4 separate regions of the Homo sapiens genome follow, and regions 2, 3 and 4 are each linked to region 1. Evidence: promoter capture Hi-C in 16 types of primary human blood cells and fetal thymus (Javierre and others, 2016). All regions are on one chromosome and are shown on one strand. The core of a region is centred on a gene start or on the middle of the fragment in contact, and the rest is flanking DNA. Distances in the headings are between cores, read along the strand shown.

Region 1 (3,327 bases), core at 492-2,991:
TGTATTTTTAGTAGACGGGGTTTCGCCATGTTAGCCAGGCTGATCTGGAACTCCTGACTTCAAGCGATTGCCCACCTCGGCCTCCCAAAGTGCTGAGATTACAGGCGTGAGCCACTGTGCCTGGCCTTGGACACTGTATTTGCCTGGTGGCCGACTGTCTCCCTGACAACACTCAAGCTCCACAACCATGTGGGTTATTTTGCTCATTGCTCTATTTCCAGAGCCTAGCACAGTGCTTGGCACATAGCAGATGCTCAATAAGTATCTACTGCGTGTGCCATTCTCTTCCTTGAATTTCTGTAATACTCATCCAATACCATTCTTGCGAGACTTACCCGTATGCTTTTTCTGCCAGTGGCTACCTGTGAAAGCTTCGACTTGTCTATGAGCTCCCTGAGGACAGGGCCTGGCTCAGGGAAACAATTCCTGTCATCTGTGCAGTTTACCATCCCCTCACAGATCGCCTAATTTGATTTAACCAAAGCAAACAGGCCACGGAGGCAGATATTGTTAGCAATCCAGATCTCTCCTGCTACCTAGACTAAGCTTAACAAATATTTGATTGAGAGAGAGAGAGAGAGATTGGGAGAGAGAAACTTGAGTCACTTTGTGGAGCGAGGAAGCCCTTCTGGGCTAATGGAATGGTTCTCTGTAGCACATTCAACAGTACTCATAACAGCTAGCATTTGTTGAACTTAATTTTTTTTCTTTTGAGACAGAGTCTTGCTCTGTCGCCAGGCTGGGGTGCAGTGGCGCGATCTTGGCTCACTGCAACCTCTGCCCCCGGGTTCAAACGATTCTCCTGCCTCAGCCTCCCGAGTAGCTGGGACTATAGGAGCGAACCACCACGCCCAGCTAATTTTTGTATTTTTAGTAGAAACGGGGTTTCACCATGTTGGCCAGGATGGTCTCGATCTCTTGACCTTGGCCCGCCTCGGCCTTCCAAAGTGCTGGGATTACAGGCGTGAGCCACCGCGGCCGACCTGTTGAACTTAATTTTCTAATCTCTACCTGTGTCATCCTCACAGATATTCTGTCTGCAGCTATACCGGCAGGGATCTTTATGTCTTATCTGTTATCTTCCGGTGCCTAAACAAGGCCTGGCACATAGTAGGTGCTGAATAAATGGCGTCAGCCCGAGGCTCCTCAATTCGTGCCCGGGCTCAGGTGCAGCGCGGCGCTCCAGATCCTGCCGTAGCGAGCGGCAGCGCTGGGCTCCTGCCCCGCTCCCGGCGCGCTCCCCCAGTGCTGGGTTGGGCTGGGTTGGGCTGGGCCGGGCCGGTCCGCGCTCGGCGGCAGTTCCGGGTGCGCCGCAGGAGTGAGCGCGTGCACGGGGTGGGGCGCGGAGGGCCGGTCCCCTCCCAGCCGCGGTGCCTTCCGCATCCCCGCCCGCGGGGACTGTGGGGTGCGGTTCCCTCGCCGCCACTCGCTGCTGCAGGCCCAGAGTCGGGGACTGGACCTCAGACAGCCAGGAGACCTTTCCGCCCCGGCCCGCAACCCGTGCCGGGGACTCCCGGCAGCCGCGCCGCGCAGCGCCGCGCCCCGCCCCGCCTCGCAGGCCCCGCCCCCGCACCCCGTCGGCGCCCGCCTCTCGCGCCGCTCTCCATACTTGGCGATCGCCGCAGCCCCGCGCGCTCATTGGCCGCGAGCTGGCGGCGTGGGGGGCGGGCCCGGGCCGGGCCGGGGCGGGGAAGGAAGGTGGCGGCGGCCCGGCGCGGGGGGAGGGGGGTGCTGACCCGGATGTTCACTCCTGGGCACCCGGGGAAGTGGAAGCGCCGGGCCCTGCTGCGGGGGGGAGAGCCACTGACGCCGGGACCGGGACCGCCGCCGCCGCCGCCACCATGGTAAAGGCCGCACGGCCCCCTCCCCGGCCCGGGGGCCCCTCCGGAGCTCGCGTCCCCCTCCCCCTGCCCATCCCTGGCCTGGGACGGGTGGCTTCCCGGGGTGGGGGAGGGGCGGGGTCCCGGACCCTGGGTGGACCCGGTCCCTCCCCGCCCAGGAGGGTGCCGCCGGCGCGGACGACTTGGGTGGCAGTGACCCTGCCCCCGCTCCCAGCCCCCGCCCTTGGCGCAAGCTGGAGTCCCACTCACTACCTCTGTGTTCAGGCTGGTCTCTCCCATAGCCCAGGCTAGACCCTCCCTCCCGAACCGTGTCCCCAGCCAGGCACCCCCTCGGTGACCCTGGCGTGGGCCCCCTTCCTCCCCCGGTCTAGGGCTAGGTCTGCTTTCCCCCGTCTCTCCGGCCCAGGCTAGGCCGTCGTTTCTCCCTGCCATGGCCCAGGCTAGGCCGCTGCCTCCCTCTGTCCCTCCCCCTTTGCCTTCTCCATGGCCTCAGGCTGGACCCCGGTCAGCCCCTTCTGCAGCGGCCTAGGTTTGCTTCCCCTCTTCTCCGTGGCCTCAGCCTGAATCTCCTCTTCTCTCTGTGAACTTAAATCTGGACCTCCTCTTCTCCGCCCATGGCCCCCGTCTGGACCTCACTGCCCCCTCCCCACCATGATCCCCTTCCCTGGACTTTTCGCCACTCCTAGCGTAACCTGCGTCAGCCCCGCTCGGTCCCCGCCCTGAGCCTCTCATCAGGGTCCTGCCCCCTGCCTGGTGCACGACCCAGGGTCCCCTTCCCTGTACCTGGGGCGCGCCTTCTTTGCAGCCTTTGGGGAGCGAGGGGAGCTCTCCATCAGGGATGGGGTGGTCCCGGTGCTGTGCCTTCTCAGTTGCCGCTTCTAGGGAGGCCGCCTAGGAGCCAGCGAGGGAAGGGCGGGCATCGGTGTGCCCAGAAGGCAGCGCGCTGCTCTGCGGGCCCTTCTCGAGGCTGCCGCCGTGGGTGCTGTGCGTGCGAAGCATTCTGCAGGGCAGGCCGGGGTCCACGGCGCCCGGGCCTGAGTGGGAGCCGAGGGGCGAGGATGGGTGGCCCACAGGACAAGGATGAACGCACAATCGCCCTTGTGAGGCCGTGGCCTTGGGGGGCCACCAGGCCCTGGATCCAGCATATGGCCTGGACACGATGCACCCAAGCAGGCGCAGCCTCCCCTTCCCTCTGAACTGTCAGCTTGCAAGGGTTGGAACTGCTGATTATGGAAGTCCCTCGGATCAGGTGAGCAGAACGCCTAGGGAGAGTGCTGGCTCCGCTCGTGGTGTTTGTTTTGGTAAAGAAGGCAGATGCTATCCAGACTTTTGAGGAACCTGGGGTTTCACATAGGCCCCCACAGATAGACCTGCCCTCCTGCCACTTGACCCTTCTGCAGGACAGGCCCAGCACTTAGGTTGGAAGGGCCAGAGAACTTCTTCCTGACAGGATCAAGGGATTTTTGGAGCATGTTTGTATGTGGAC
Region 2 (3,327 bases), core at 1-2,500, 250 kb after region 1:
AAAACTAGTGCCTTCCTTAGTCCAAAGGAAATATGGGGACATAAATGAGAGCTTCCCCATAGATAGTAAGAACAAGCAGCATGGGATTTAAGATTGACCTGTGCCTGCGTTGGAGGTAGGGAGAGTTCTGTTTTCAGCTGTAGATGCAACTGAGGCCTCCCTCTGCTCTTAAATGCCTGACCATTCTGCTCCAAAGTGGGGAGCACTTTCAACTCTAAGGCCAAGGGCCTTCCCTGGAGAGGTGACCCTCTGTAAGGCAGCTGGCTAGTACTGGTCCCATTTAGGAGCTGATGCCTTGCTTTTCCCCCAGACTGCCCTAGTGAGCTTTGCCACCACTGGGGAGAAGACGGTGGCTGCAGTCATGGCCTGTCGGAATGAAGTGGTGAGTATTGAGAACAACAGTCAGCACTTGGGATTTTCCTTCCTGGTCTCCACTAGGAACCCTGAAAATCAGAAGTCTGGGCACATTGACCTGGTCAGTTTGAACCCAGCGGGCAGGAGGCTGTTGAGAAGTGAGGTCTTGCCTCAACTATAGAGCTTTCTGCACACCCCATTTCTCCCCAGGAACGAGACCCTAATGTGATGACCTTACTTTCATATGGGGCTATTAAGGGTTGAATAGGCTTTGTGGGCAGGGGTGAGAAATGAGCTTTGTCTTCTCTCAAGTGCTAAGAAGACAAAAACAAAAGCTTCATTTCAGTGACTGGGAAGTGACCCTTTGGCTGAATTTTCTCCTGTCCTTCTCTTTCTCATAGCAGAAAAGTAGCAGTTCTGAAGATGGGTCAATGGGGAGCTTTTCGGAGAAGTCTAGTTCAAAGGTATGGTGTGGCACTGGGCAGTATGCCAGACCTAGAGACGCAGGAGGCCACCAAAGAGAGTTGGGGGAAGAGCTTTGGTTAGGAGCAGGTCCTAGAGTTCCCAGCTTCAAATGAGGTTTCCTAAGTACTGTAAATTAAATGATGTTTCTCTTAATCTCATTTTACCGGGAGATTAGGAGGTAGAATCCCTAGAGTCTGTTTCTAGCCACTTTCTCCTCTGGGCCTCAGCGTCCCCATTTCTTTTGGGATCCTGGCTGGCACAGTTGAGTAGTACTCTGTGCAGTTACCCTGTAGCAGAGGCATGAGCCCCTGGCTGGAGGCATAGGTTCCTGCTGTGGCTTCCATCTAAGCGTTTCCCTGCCTCCTGTCTTGCTCAGTCTTACCTTGCTCAGCCCTACCTCTCTCTCAGAAGTCTCTGCTACTCTGTACTGGCTTCCAAGACAAGTATGGTAGTTGTAATTTCATTTATTTACTCAGGCACCTTATTTCTGCCTTAGGATTTAGCTTGCTTTTCTCTTTTATTCTCCTTTGCATATATTTCCCCTTCTGGCCTGGCTCCTTCTCTAGGGTATTTGCCCCCAATCCTTGGACTTCCTTTGGTGGGCTTTGCTTTCGGGGGATACCTGTAGTTGACACGTGCTGTCTGTACTCCTAGGACTCTCTGGCTTGCTTCAATCAGACCTACACCATTAACCTATACCTCGTGGAGACAGGTCGGCGGCTGCTGGACACCACGATAACATTTAGCCTGGAACAGAGCGGCACTCGGCCTGAGCGGGTAAGGCAGAGCCTTTCTTTGCAGACTGTCCTGTGGGCTTCTCAGCACATGGCTTCCTTTCCTCAGGGCCAGGTCTTAGCCATGGGGCTTGGATTAGGCTCTCTAAACATGTGTTCTAGTGCTCTCTGAGCCACTGACTTGTTAGAAGTCACAGTAAAGGCGGGTATTATTTATGCCAGCTCATCATTGTGCACCAGGGACTGTTCTAAGCTTTTAACTTACACATTAATTGATTTAACCCTCCAAACACTCTCATGAAGCGGTTGTTCCTGACCTGGTTTTAAAATGATTCTGTGGCCTGGTGGGATCGAGTACCATAGCCAGAGTCACGGAGCCAGTAAGAGGTGTCACTGCGGTTCAGATTCAGGTCTAACCCCACAGCCTGGACTCCTCATCACTACCCAGTATTGCCTCTGTGTGCATCTGGTTGTGTTCCTCAGCTGCTTGGGCTGTGGCTTCTTCGTTTCTAAAGCGGAAAGTCTAATCCCGGCCTCCTGCTCACTTTGTGGGGTGTGATTAGAGCATGGATGAATGGCGTGGTACCCGTGGAGTACTCAGGTTCTTCCATGGAAAGGTCTGGGAGACCCCAGCATCATTATGTTGGCTCCTAAGAATATGTATCACTTACTGGCATCCAGATAATAGCTACATTGTTTAGACATCAAATAATGCCATGGCCTGTACCTCTGTTAAGTCCAGGCTTTGACTCCTGGGGTCTGGTGCTCTCAGAGGCATTTGGATCCTCACTGACTACACCGGTCTTGACTGTGGCTTATAGCTGTATATCCAGGTGTTCTTGAAGAAGGATGACTCAGTGGGCTACCGGGCTTTGGTGCAGACAGAGGATCATCTGCTACTTTTCCTGCAGCAGTTGGGTAAGTAGACCTCATTCAACCCATTTTTTTATTTCCCCAGGCCTTCCAATGTGTTCCAATCAGACTGTTTTTTGGGAGGCTGCAGGTTTCTGGAAGAGATTCAAGTGGAGTGTGCCCTGAGTGTTTCGTTCATAGCCAAATGTCACCTGCTTTTTTTTTTTTTTTTTTTTTTTTGAGATAGAGTCTTGCTCTCTTGCCCAGGCTGGAGTGCAGTGGCATGATCTCGGCCCACTGCAATCTCCACCTTTCGGATTCAAGCGATTCTCCTGCCTCAGCCTCCTGAGTAGCTGGGATTACAGGCGTGTGCCACCACGACCAGCTAATTTTTGTATTTTCAGTAGAGACAGGGTTTCCCCATGTTGGCCAGGCTGGTCTCGAATTCCTGACCTCAAGTGATCCGCCTGCCTCGGCCTCCCAAAGTGCTGGGATTACAGGTGTGAGCCACCGTGCCTGGCCTGTCACCTGCTTTTTTTTTTTTTTTTGAGACGGAGTTTTGCTCTTGTTGCTCAGACTGCTGGAGTACAGTGGCATGATCTCAGCTCACTGCAACCTCTGCCTCCCAGGTTTAAGTGATTCTCCTGCCTCAGCCTCCCAAGTAGCTGGGATTACAGGCATGCACCACCACGCCTGGCTAATTTTGTATTTTTAGTAGAGATGGGGTTTCACCATGTTTGTCAGGCTGGTCTCAAACTCCTGACCTCAGGTGATCCACCTGCCTCGGCCTCCCAAAGTGCTGGGATTACAGGTGTGAGCCACCGTGCCTGGCTCTTTTTTTCTTTTTTGAGACAGAGTTTTGCTCTTGTTGCCCAGGCTGGAGTGGAATGGTGTAATCTCAGCTCTTTGCAACTTCTGCCTC
Region 3 (3,327 bases), core at 1-2,500, 220 kb before region 1:
TAGGAAATTCTAGCCTGCTAGTTGTCCCTTGAATCAACAAAATCTGAAATGTTCACCTTCACAGGTGTGTGTGTTCTGGCTTTCATACACAATTTTGAAAGATGTCAGGTGTCAGAAGACATGTATTTTGGTTCAAGGTTTTATTTGATTGCAAAGGGAAGTGGGACAGGAGAGTAGGAGGGAAAATATAAGAATAACCAAATTCCACCATGCCACTTACTTACTGTGTGATCTTGGACAAATTACTTGGCGTGTCGGAGGCTAGGCTTCCCATCGTTAAATGGAAGTGGTCATGCTTACCTCCTAGGATTGTTGTGAAGAGTAAAGGAAATTAATTGATGTATGAAGCACTTAGTCCTGAGCCTACCCTGAAATAAACTGAGATGATGATGATAAAGAAGAGGAAGAGGAGGACGAGGATTAAGAAATGGAATTCCAGCCAGGTGCGATGGAATCCCAGCACTTTGGGAGGCTGAGGCAGGAAGATTGCTTGAGCTCAGGAGTTCGATACCCACCTGGGCAACATAGTGAGATCCCATCTCTACTAAAAATCCAAAAAAAAAAAAAATGGGGGCATGGTAACACACACCTGTAGTCCCAGTTACTTGGGACGCTGAGGCAGGAGGGTGGCTTGAGCCTGGGAGGTTGAGGCTGCAGTGAGCTATGATCACACCACTTGCACTCCATCCTGGGCAACAGAGCAAGACCTGGTCTCAAAATATAAAAAATAAAATAAATTTTTAAAAAATAGAATTCCAGGCTGGGCACGGTGGCTCACACCTGTAATCCTAGCACTTTGGGAGGCTGAAGCGGGCAGAACACCTGAGGTCGAGAATTCAAGACCAGCCTGACCAACATGGAGAAACCCCATCTGTACTAAAAATACAAAATTAACTGGGCATGGTGGCTGTAATCCCAGCTACTCGGGAGGCTGAGGCAGGAGAATCACGTGAACCCAGGAGGTGGAGGTTGCAGTGTACTGAGACCACGCCATTGCACTCCAGCCTGGGCAACAAGAGCGAGATTCTGTCTAAAAAAAAAAAAGAAAGAAAAGAAAAAAAAATAGAATTCCAGAGCTTTTTTTGTTTGTTTGTTTTTATACAAAAAAAAAACAAACAGAAACAAAAAAGCCTTGCAGCACAATCTCCGGTTTCATTCCCTGCCCCTGTGAAGTTAGGCCAACATTATTGCCCATGATGTTTGCAAGATAAAACCAAAGCCAAAGAGTTTGTCAATGTGCTCACAAAGATACATTTAAACATCCTGACCCTTGAGTCCCCAAATTCTTACTTGGCTGAAAATTATGTCTGGGCTGTCACTAGATATCAGCTGAAATGCAGAAGAGACTGTCACTCGGTCAGCTGGCTCTTTCATCTCCATGATAGCAGACAGCAGACATTACATTTGATGTGATTTATTTCCCTTCCATGGATTGTATCCACCAGTTGCTTTATTCTCAGACAAACCCAGCTTTAGTCCCCCTGGGGTGGGGGGAGGGGAGAAGGAGGGGAGGTCAGGCAGTGCAGATTAATTTTTAGGGTCCCCCCCCCCCGCCGGGATGTTAGTAATAGCCTTATCACTTTGCATGACCAAATAAAAGAGATGGGAATCAAAGAGGAGAGATGAAGGTTTAGTCATTCCCTTAAAGAATTCATCCCAAATCCTGGTATATGTCCAAACAGGCTCCTTTAAGCGATTCTTTCCAGTGTGAACCTCATTCCACTGCGGGGCTTGGGGGTACAGTCAAAGCCGCCCTTTCTCCTTTCTTGGTCCCCCCTCCCTTCTGTGGCCTCTCTCTACGTGTCTATCATGTGCACGTGTGTATCTTTGGAATGGATTTCATTTGTGTTAGTGCAGTTCATAGTGTTTCCTTCAAGGTCTTTTTACTGGACCCGCAGTCAGGAAATAAATTCCTCCTTGGTTTCTACCTTATCACTCGCTGCACACATGAACCCCCACCAGGAGGGAGAAAATCCTTCTTTTTTGCTTCTTGAACTTGTGATTCTTTGGTCTTTGCAGCCCAGCAGAATCTCTTTACTGACAGCGTGACAGGCATGTGGGAGTGAGAGGTGCTGCCTTCCCAGCTGTTTGATGAGATTTCTGAGTGGCAGCTAAAGGAGCAGGCCCTGGGATAACAGAAAGCTCTGTGAGGGTTTGCCTCACTTTAAGGAAGCTCACTGTGTGGAAAGGGGGAAATGACAAAGGTGAAGCTGGGACCTTCACCTGATTCCCGCTGGCAAAGGCCCCACACTGTCCGAAAGTGTTCTCTGTGGGGCCCTTTGGAAGGGCTGGCCCCGCTTTGTGCATTTTAAGAATGTTTAGTTTCACAAAAAACTTAATTTAAACACAGTTTTTGAGATCAAGGCTCTAGTGTGAGCTGAAGTTTGCTGCTGTGATGACGCTGTCCATTCTCAGCTCTTGGGTTTTTTTTTTTTTATTTATGTATTTTTTTTTTAAAAAGCTAAGATAATTTCCAGACTTTTAGGGGTACCAAGTGGTAAAGCACCGTCTCAGGAGTCCAGTGTGAGCTGCTGAAAACATGACAAGAGCAATTCACAAGATAGAAACAGAAATTATCTAAATTCTGGGGGTCTTTGACCTTTGAACTTTCTGTTTCCTCTTCTGAGGATGCTGTCTGGAAGCATTCAGAATGGTTCAGCATGTGACAGTACCATCGTAGGCTTCCCTACAATAGCCTCTAACAAAACTAGGCTGTCCCAAACCCCCAGAGTAGAATTGTTTACCCTTATACAAGTGATATGGTTTGGCTCTGTGTCCCCACCCAAATCTCATGTGGCGTTGTAATCCCGCTGTGTTGAAGGAGAGGCCTGGTGGGAGGCGATTGGTGATTGGATTATAGTGACAGATTTCCCCATGCTGTTCTCATGATAGTGAGTTCTCACGAGATCTGGTTGCTTAAAGGTGTGTCACACTTCCCCTTCACTCTCTCTCCTGCTCCACCATGGGAAGACAAGCTTGCTTCCCCTTCACCTTCCGCCATGATTGTAAGTTTCCTGAGGCCTCCCAGTCATGCTTCCTGTTAAGCCTGTGGATCTGTGAGTCAATTAAACCTCTCTTCTTCATAAATTACCCAGTCTCAGGTAGGTCTTTCTAGCAGTGTGAAAATGGACTAATACAACCGAGAAGGCTAGGCGTGCACCTAAACCTGCATGTGGCATGTGCCCAGGCAGACTTCAAGGGGTTATATATTTTTTGAGATAGAGTTTCACTCTTGTTGCCCAGGCTGGAGTACAGTGGTGCGATCTCTGCTCACTGCAATCTCCTCCTCCCAGGTTCAAGTGATTCTCCTGCCTCAGCCTCCCAAGA
Region 4 (3,327 bases), core at 1-2,500, 180 kb after region 1:
ATAGTATTTTGCAAATCACATATCTGTTAAGAATCTTGTATCTATTCTAGCTATAGGACTCTTACAACTTAATAAAAGAGAAAACCCACCTGGGTGCACTGGCTCACGCCTGTAATCCCAGCACTTTGGGAGGCCAGGCGGACGGATCACTTAAGCCCAGGAGTTCAAGACCAGCTTGGGCAACACAGCAAAACCCTGTCTCTACAAAAAATACCAAAATAATTAGTCGGGTATGGTGGCGGGCACCTGTGGTCCCAGCTAATCGAGAGGCAGAGGTGGGAGGATCTCTTGGGCCCAGGAGGTGGAGGCTGCAGTGAGCCAAAATCAGACCATTGCACTCCAGCCTGGGCAACAGAGCAAGACCCTACCTCAAAAAAGAAAAAAAAAAAAGAAAAGAAAGAAATCCCAATTAAACAATGGGCAAATTATTGGAATAGACCTTTTTCCAGAGGGCATACAGGTGGTCAGTAACCACATGGAAAGCTGCTCAAAATCAGTACTTATCAGGGAAAAGCAAATCAAAACCCCTTCAAATCTGCTAAGCACTAGGATCATCAGAGTCAATAAAATACAGAAAATAACAAGTGTTGAGGGTTTGGAGAAATGGGAGACTTAGGACACCGCCATTGAGACTGTAAAACGGTGCAACCATTTTGGAAAACATTCTGGCAGTTTTTCAAAAGATTAAGCATTTATATGACCCAGAAATTTCACTCCCTAGGTATACCTAGAAGAAATGAGGCTGGGCGCAGTGTCTCACGTCTGTAATCCTAGCACTTTGGGAGGCCGAGATGGGCAGATCACCTGAGGTCAGGAGTTCAAGACCAGCCTGGCCAACATGGTGAAACTCCATCTCTACTAAAAATACAAAAATTAGCCAGGCGTGGTGGCACACACCTGTAATCCCAACTACTTGGGAGGCTGAGGCAGGAGAAGCGCTTGAACCTGGGAGGCGGAGGTTGCTGTGAGCCGAAATCTTGCCGCAGCACTCCAGCCTGGGTGACAGAGTGAGACTCTGTCTCAAAAAAAAGAAAAAAAGAAATATATGTCCTTATTAAAAATTACGTGAATGTTATAGCAGCATTATTCATAATAGCCAGAAAGTGGAAACTGCCCAAATGTCAATCTTAATAGGTGAATGGATAAACAAAATATCTGTATGTACAATGGAACATTTTTCAAAAAAAAAAAGGAATTAAGTATGAAACATCTACAATGTGGATGAACCTTAAAAACATGTTAAGTGAAAGAAGCCAGTCACAAAAGGCCTCATATTGTATGATTCCATTTATATGAAGTATCTGGAATAAGCAAATCTATTAGACACAGAAAGTAGATGAGTGGTTGCCTAGGACTGAGAGGGAGTTTGGGAGGAAATGGAGATTCACTGCTACTGAGTACAGAGTTTCTTTTGGGGAGGTGATAAAAATGCTCTGAAATTGACTGTGGTGGTTGTACAATTCAGAATACACTAAACACCATTAAATTATACACTTTAAGTGGGTCAGTTGTATATAGTGCCTCAATAATATGTAATAAAACAATCAATTAGCTCAGAAATCTGTTAGAGCAGGGCTCAGCAGGGAAGCCTCATCTGTTCCTCAGTGTCTCAGAGGTGATCTAGCAGCTGGAGGCTAGGGTTGCCTGAAGACATTCACTCAAGCATGTGGCAGTTGCTGCTGAGGGCCAGCTGGAATATCAGCTGCTGTCATCAACCGGCACACACGTGACCTCTGCATGTGGCTTCCAAGGGAGCACATCCCAGGCAAACTAGGCAGAAGCCATGTGGCCTTTTATGTCCCAGCCTCAGAAGTCCATAACATCACTCTTGTGTCCTGGGAGGAGAGTCAAAGATACCTGTGCAAAGAGCACGTGAGAGAATGGAGTGGTTATCTTTGGAAAATAAACTGTAACACTTGGAGCAACAGTCCTGAGTGGAGAAGGTGAGCCCCGGGACCTGCCAGGAGACTGTGTCTTGACTATCCCCATCAGAGATGCATTTTCTGCTATGTCACATCCCATCCGTTAGAATCTTCCGGATACTATATCTCATAGTTGATGGTCTCTTGAATTCAGCAATTTCATATCTAAAGAGATTCTTGAAGACACCATGTTGTACACCTTAAATATATATACAATTTTTATTTGTTAATTAAAAAATAAATAAGTGAGGCCAGGCGCAGTGGGTCACGCCTGGAATCCCAGCACTTTGGGAGGCCGAGGCAGGTGGATCACGAGGTCAGGAGTTCAAGACCAGCCTGGCCAATATGGTGAAACCCCGTCTCTACTAAAAATACAAAAATTAGCCGGGCGAGGTAACAGGTGCCTGTAGTCCCAGCTACTCAGGAGGCTGAGGTGGAAGAATTGCTTGAACCCAGGAGGCCAAGGTTGCAGTGAGCTGAGATTGCGCCACTGCACTCCAGCCTGGGTGACAGAGCGAGACTCCGTCTCAAAAAAAAATAATAAGTAAGTGAGAAGGAACAAAAAAATCTAAAGAAGCAGAGCTGGATCTGGAGAGCATCTCATATATTTAATCATCCTCAAACTAAGGAAGCTGTTCTGTGCTGTATGAAAGACTGAAGGAGGAGGGGGCATCGATTTTTTATTTTATTTTATTTATTTTTTATTTATTATTATTTTTTTGAGACAGAGTCTCACTTTGTTGCCCAGGCTGGAGTGTAGTGGCATGATCTCGGCTCACTGCAAGCTCCGCCTCCCAGGTTCACACCATTCTCCTGCCTCAGCCTCCCGAGTAGCTGGGACTACAGGCACCCACCACCACACCCGGCTAATTTTTTTGTATTTTTAGTAGAGATGGGGTTTCACTGTGTTAGCCAGGATGGTCTCAATCTCCTGACCTCGTGATCCGCCTGCCTCGGCCTCCCAAAGTGCTGGGATTACAGGCGTGAGCCACCATGCCTGGCCGATTTTTTATTTTAACGTTTTGTTTTATCTTACTGTTTTTCCTTAGGTGAGAAAAATGTACCCTTCCATGCCTGTGCTTTCTAAATTTTGGGACTGATACAGATCCACAGAGGCCACACCTAAAATTAAATTATCGTTAGTGCTAAAACTTAATTGACTGTGTATATAACTGTGCAATTGCTGTTACTGATATAACTGTTTGGGGTTCATTCAACAGATTAAAGAAGCAAGGTCTTGCATTTAACACACAAACTAATGAGATACTGCTTTATACAAGAATTTTAAAAACACTGTCATATGGTTTAGTGTAGTTAATGTCATGCTTATGTCATATAACATAGCATGTTAGAGTTCTCTAGAGGGACAGAACTAACAGGATATATGTACATAAGAAAGGGAGTT

Evidence for each region. Contacts are between HindIII fragments. The CHiCAGO score rates a contact against its expected background, and 5 or more counts as called.
Region 2: a contact is called between a fragment that was not itself captured here and the fragment with the promoter of CAPZB in region 1, in 1 of 17 cell types (neutrophils). The highest score is 5.6, in neutrophils.
Region 3: a contact is called between a fragment that was not itself captured here and the fragment with the promoter of CAPZB in region 1, in 2 of 17 cell types (total CD4 T cells and non-activated CD4 T cells). The highest score is 6.5, in total CD4 T cells.
Region 4: a fragment that was not itself captured here is called in contact with the fragment with the promoter of CAPZB in region 1 in 1 of 17 cell types (neutrophils); the score reaches 5.6 in neutrophils.

The regions. Positions count from the first base shown.
Region 1 is chr1:19,483,953-19,487,279 of GRCh38, reverse strand. It overlaps CAPZB (capping actin protein of muscle Z-line subunit beta), which reads left to right and starts at 1,741. Exons shown (of 9, transcript NM_004930.5): 1 at 1,741-1,844. The coding sequence starts at 1,842. It also overlaps a transcript of LOC105376819 not described here. RefSeq lists silencers at 1,165-1,894, 1,925-2,034 and enhancers at 1,939-2,447, 2,448-2,955, 2,956-3,327. The HindIII fragment of the contact is 2,873 bases long and covers 549-3,327 here.
Region 2 is chr1:19,236,286-19,239,612 of GRCh38, reverse strand. It overlaps EMC1 (ER membrane protein complex subunit 1), which reads left to right. Exons shown (of 23, transcript NM_015047.3): 9 at 311-382; 10 at 756-818; 11 at 1,474-1,596; 12 at 2,375-2,471. All of the region lies in intron 1 of EMC1-AS1 (EMC1 antisense RNA 1), which reads right to left. Among named protein-coding and RNA genes, the nearest start is that of EMC1, 14 kb to the left of the region's middle. The HindIII fragment of the contact is 1,117 bases long and covers 692-1,808 here.
Region 3 is chr1:19,707,512-19,710,838 of GRCh38, reverse strand. The region is part of intron 13 of TMCO4 (transmembrane and coiled-coil domains 4); the gene reads left to right. Among named protein-coding and RNA genes, the nearest start is that of HTR6, 44 kb to the right of the region's middle. The HindIII fragment of the contact is 3,454 bases long and covers 1-2,977 here.
Region 4 is chr1:19,298,752-19,302,078 of GRCh38, reverse strand. It overlaps LOC124903867 (a long non-coding RNA gene), which reads right to left. Exons shown (of 3, transcript XR_007065521.1): 2 at 1-201. Among named protein-coding and RNA genes, the nearest start is that of AKR7A3, 12 kb to the right of the region's middle. The HindIII fragment of the contact is 8,280 bases long and covers 1-3,327 here.